Regions from separate parts of the Homo sapiens genome. Here region 1 is linked to region 2. The links are contacts of gene promoters, found by promoter capture Hi-C in blood cells and fetal thymus (Javierre and others, 2016). All regions are on one chromosome and are shown on one strand. The core of a region is centred on a gene start or on the middle of the fragment in contact, and the rest is flanking DNA. Distances in the headings are between cores, read along the strand shown.

What was found. Contacts are between HindIII fragments. The CHiCAGO score rates a contact against its expected background, and 5 or more counts as called.
Region 1: a fragment that was not itself captured here is called in contact with the fragment with the promoter of HIP1R in region 2 in 9 of 17 cell types (naive CD4 T cells, total CD8 T cells, naive B cells and 6 more); the score reaches 7.7 in naive CD4 T cells.

The regions. Positions count from the first base shown.
Region 1 is chr12:122,969,368-122,972,067 of GRCh38, reverse strand. It overlaps a transcript of ABCB9 not described here. Among named protein-coding and RNA genes, the nearest start is that of ABCB9, 4.3 kb to the right of the region's middle. The HindIII fragment of the contact is 178 bases long and covers 1,339-1,516 here.
Region 2 is chr12:122,834,165-122,836,864 of GRCh38, reverse strand. It overlaps HIP1R (huntingtin interacting protein 1 related), which reads right to left and starts at 1,408. Exons shown (of 32, transcript NM_003959.3): 1 at 1,222-1,408. The coding sequence starts at 1,314. It overlaps LOC124903040 (a long non-coding RNA gene), which reads left to right and starts at 1,632. Exons shown (of 2, transcript XR_007063501.1): 1 at 1,632-1,691; 2 at 2,027-2,310. RefSeq lists silencers at 897-1,096, 1,267-1,506 and an enhancer at 1,757-1,806. The HindIII fragment of the contact is 2,457 bases long and covers 617-2,700 here.

The DNA of each region.
Region 1 (2,700 bases), core at 178-2,677, 140 kb before region 2:
GTCTCAACAAAAAAAAAAAAAAAAAAAAAAGACATTATGAATGAAGCTGCTATGAACATTCTTTTTATTATGATAACATCTACATAACGAAATTTACCATTTTAACCACTTTTAATAGATTTCCTTTTTTTTAAGATCAGTTTTAGGCTCACAGCAAAATTGAGTAGCAAGTATAGCCACAGCACACACAGCCTCCCCCACCATCACCATCCCACACGAGCCAGTACATTTGTTATGGTCAGTGAACCCACACTGACACCTCATTATCATCCAAAGCTGGCAGTTTACATTAGGATTCATATATTCTATAGTTTTTGGCTGGGCGCAGTGGCTCACACCTGTAATCCCAGCACTTTGGGAGGTCGAGGTGGGCAGATCGCTTGAACTCAGGAGTTCGAGACCAGCCTGGTCAACATGGCAAAATCCCGTCTCTATGAAAAATACGAAAATTAGCTGGTTGTGGTGGCACACCTATGATCCCAGCTACTCAGGAGGCTGAGGTGGGAGAATCACTTGAACCTGGGAAGCAGAGGTTGCATGGGCAGAGGTCATGCTGCTGAACCCCAGCCTGGGTGACAGAATGAGACCCTGTCTCAAAAAAATCATTAAAAATTAAATAAACATATTCTATAGTTTTTTTGTTGTTTTTGTTTGTTTTTGATTTTTTTTTTTTTTTTTTTTGAGATGGAGTCTCACTCTGTCGCCCAGGCTGGACTGCAGTGGCATGATCTCAGCTCACTGCATCTTCCACCTCCTGGGTTCAAGCGATTTTCCTGCCTCAGCCTCCTGAGTAGCTGGGATTACAGGGGTGTGCCACCACACTTGGCTAATTTTTTTTTATATTTTTGGTAGAGACAGGGTTTCACCATATTGGCCAGGCTGGTCTCGAACTCCTGACCTCAGGTGATCCACCCGCCTTGGCCTCCCAAAGTGCTGGGATTACAGGCCTATAGTTTTTGACAAATGTATGTGGCATGCATCTACCATTACAGTATCATATGGAGTAGTTTCACTGCCCTAAAAATCCTCTGTGCCCTGCCTACTCACCCCTTCCTTCTCACTAACCCTTGGCAAACACTGATCTTTGTACTGTCTCCACCGTTTTGCCTTTTCCAGAATGTCATATGGTAGGAATCATACAGTAGGGAGCTTTTTCAGATTGCTTCCTTCTCTTAGGAATGTGCATTGAAGGTTCCTCCGTGCCTTTTCATGGCTTGATAGCTCATTTCATTTTAGCACTGAATAATATTCTGTTGTCTGGGTGTACCACAGTGCATCCATTCACCTGCTGAACGACATCATAGTTGCTTCCAAGTTTAGGCAATTACGAATAAAGCTTTATTTTATTTTATTTTTGTTTATGTTTTAGTCGATAAATCATTTTACATGCTCATGGGGTATGTAGTGATGTTTCAATACATATAATGCATAGTGATCAGATCAGGGTCATGAGCATATATATCATCTCAAACATCTATCATTTCTTCGTGTTGGAAACATTCAATAGAATAAAGCTTCCAGGCTGGGTGTGGTGGCTCACACCTGTAATCCCAGCACTTTGGGAGGCCGAGGCAGGTGGATCACCTGAGGTCAGGAGTTCTAGACCAGCCTGGCCAATATGGTGAAACTTCATCTCTACCAAAAATACAAAAATTAGCCAGGCGTGGTGGCATGCGCCTGTAATCCCAGCTACTTGGGAGGCTGAGGCAGGAGAGTCACTGGAGCCTAGGAGGTGGGGGTTGCAGTGAGCCGAGATCACACCACTGCCCTGCAGCCTGGGTGACAGAGCAAGAGTTCATCTCAAATAAATAAATAAATAAATTAGCCGGGCATGGTGGCAGGCTTCTGTAATCCCAGCTGATCGGGAGGCTGAGGCAGGAGAATCACTTGACCCCGGGAGGCGGAGGTTGCAGTGAGCTGAGTTCATGCCATTGCACTCCAGCCTGGGAGACAGAGTGAGACTCCATCTCGAAAGTAATAATGATAAAGCTTCTATAAACATCTGTGGACAGGTGTTTCTGTAGACGTAAATTTTTACTTCCTCTGGGTAAATATCACAGAGTGTGATTGCCTGATCATGTAGTAAGAGCATAGTTAGTTTTATAAAAAAACCTGCCGAACTGCCTTCCTCCCTAGCTGGACTGTTTTGCATTCCCAGCAGCAATGAATGAGAGTCCCTGTTGTTCCTCATCGCTGACAGCATTTGGTGTTGTCAGTGTTCCAGATCTCAGCTATTCTAGTGTGTGTGTATTGATATCACATTGCTGTTTTAATTTGCATTTCCTTTATGGCATATGGCATGGAGTGTTTTTTCTTTCTCTTTTTTTTTTTTTTTGAGACAGGGTCTCTGTCGCCCAGGCTGGAGTTCAGTGGTATGGACACAGCTCATTGCAGCCTCAACATCCCAGGTTCAAGCAATCCTCCCACCTCAGCCTCCTGAGTAGCTGGGACTACAGGCATGTGCCACCACACCCAGCTAATTTTTTAAATTGTTTGTAGCAACTGGGTCCCACTGTGTTGCCCGGGCTGGGTTCAAGTGATCCTGCCACCTTGGCCTCCCAAAGTGCTGGGATTACAGGCATAAGCCACATTGCCTGGACTTCCTTTTGTAATAATAGCTTTATTGAGATACACTGTACATACCATACAATTCACCAAATTAAAGTTTACAATTCAAGAGTTTTTAGTATATTCACAGAG
Region 2 (2,700 bases), core at 159-2,658:
GGTCAATCCCAAGCACAAAGGTTAGAAGGTCTCCCTGCGTTCTCTCTCATTTCAAAACGAAAGCTGTTGTAGAGTGCGTGTGCTAACTAGATGTGAAGGCAACCGCAGAAGTCATAGCTCTCTGCAAGGACAAGTGGGACGGAACTTGCAAATAGCCGCCACAAACGCAAATGTCACCAACCTGCTTTAGACAGGAGTGGGAGGGGTCCTCTGGCTTCCTTTATCTCTAGAGTAAAATTTTTCAGCCATTTCAGTCTTGGTTGACTTATTTTGGCAAATAAACAAGTATGCCCCCCTCCACCGCCCATCCCCCAAGCCTGAGAGCACTTCAAGAGTTTGTAAAATAAAAAGCAACAGGAAACCAGAAACGCAGCAACGTCTGCATCGTGGGTCCCCGGCACAAACACAAGTACAAAACGCACACCCGCGCCCTTATTTCATTTCTAACGCCTTCCCAGGATAGGCATCATCTGGAAGAGTTACAAGCGTGGGAGGCGCAGGAAGGGAGCCCCAGGAAGTTTCTGTCTGTCGGGCGCCGGTATTTAATGAGGGGGTGTGCACCTATTTATACGTGGGCAGCGCTCGGGCAAACAAGTCTGGCGACATACGAGAAGCTTTTCACCCAGCAAATAATAGGAGACTGTGCAGCCCTGGGAAACCGCTCACGAGAGAAGGAAGCTGGGAGTTTAAGGAATTTCCTTTAAGGAAATTGCCCGTGGGGGCATCGGTTTCAGGGGGTAGGAGACGGGGGCAGGAGCCGGCAAGGAGCGGCACGGAAGGTCGGGGACCCCAGTCGGGCCGCGCCGGCCCCGGGAGCACCTGGATCCCCAGCCCCCTCGACCCCCGGCGCGCTGGGCTCGCGCACACCCAACCCCGGCCCCATCTCCGTCCCCCGCCGCCTCAGCTCCGGCGCTCCCGGCCCGCGCACACCCTGACCCCGGCCCCCTCAGCCCCGGCGCCTCTGGGCCCGAGCGCCCGGCGGGAGCGGGGAGCGCGGCTTCCGGTTCACCTGCGCGCCGGTCGGCTCGGGCCGCGGAGGCCGGCGGGGGGCGGCAGCGGAGCTCTCGGAGAGCCCGGGCGGACACAGGCCCTGCCCCCGCGCCGTCCCCCGCCCCTGGCCGGCGCCTCCCGGGCCCCAGCCGTTCGCGCGTGAGGGGTCAGGGACGCCGCTTGCCCGCCCGCCCGCCGCCGCCCGCCGCCCGCCGCCCGCCGCCCGCTCGCCTGGGTCTTGTCGAACTGCTCGCGCTCGGCCTCCAGGCTGTGGCCCGGCCTGCGGCTCAGCACCCGCGCCGGCACGTTCTTGATGCTGTTCATCCTGCCGCCGCCGCCCGCTTTTGTCCGGCTCCGTCCGCGCGACTCACAGCCTCACGGTCCGGCAGCCCCAGCCTAGGCACCGCGAGGCCACCGCGCCGCGCCCGGGCCCGCCCGCCGGGGAGGAGCCCGCCTCGCCCCGCCCCCAACTCCAGGGCACGCCCCTCCCCCGCACACCTCCAAACCCGCCCCCCGCGCCCGCAAACGCCTCGCCCGCCCCCAACTCCAGGGCGCGCCCCTCCACCCGCACACCTCCAACCCCACCCCCCGCGATCTCGGGACACGCGCCTCTCCCCGCACATCCCCAACCCCCCATCCCGCGGCGACCCCGGCACACGCCCCGCCCCCCGCACACCTCCAACCCCCACCTCACTCACAAGGTTGGGGCACAGGCCAAACGCCCCCCCAGCTCCTCCCCACCTCTAATCCCCTCCCTAAACCCGGAGGGGAGGGTAGGGGAAGGGGGAGGGGGAACCCCTCCCTCCTCCTTCCACCCAGGGTAGGGACCCCAGCCAATTCCCTCTCCCCACCCCTCCTCCGAACTCACTAAGTCTTGTCTGCACCAGGGCAAGATCTGGTTAATTGGAGAAAATCTGGCCTCCATGAGTCTGGTCGGTGGCAGCACAGATAGACGCTTTTTTTCCTTTTTGGTCTTAATGTATGTGTCAAAAGGCACACAATGACACTCTCCCCTCTTTGTGCAATTCTGACATAGCTGCAGCTGTTATCCATGCGGGGATGCAGGATGCATTTCCAGAGACGCCGCCGGCTCCGCAACCGGACACCTCGCCAGCTCCAGGGACAATGGGGGCTGAGGCCGGGCGCTGTTAGGCTGGCACAGAAGGCAGGCGGATCTGAACAGCAAAGTACACCGAGGAGATGCCGCCAGGGGTGGCGTGAGGCTTTTTAAAAACATTATTATTGGCTTTCCCTTAAAATTACTGGTCACAAGACTGAAGTAAAAAAATAAATAAAAGCCCAGAGTCCTCTCTAAGCGTAGCTCTCAGATGGGTATTGTGTTTCTGCTGTTTCCCTTTCCTATCGGAATGCAGATGTGGAATCATGCATAAAGGTCCCTTGCTTTTGAAGGGAGAGGCACCGCCTGCCTGTAAGGAGGAAAATGACGCCCACGTAATCCTGACCCTTGTCTCCCTAGTGAGACTGTAACCTGTCTGAGGTCAGAGACCCTTTCCTTTCCTTTCCTTTCCTTTCCTTTCCCTTTCCCTTTCCTTTCCTTCCTCCTTCTTTTCTTTCTTTTCTCTCTTTCTCTCTCTTCTTTCTTTCTCTTTCTTTCTTTCTTTTCTTTTCTTCTCTTTCTTTCTTTTCTTTTTTTTTAACCGAGCTTCACTCTTGTTGCCTAGGCTGGAGTGCAATGGCACAATCTCACCT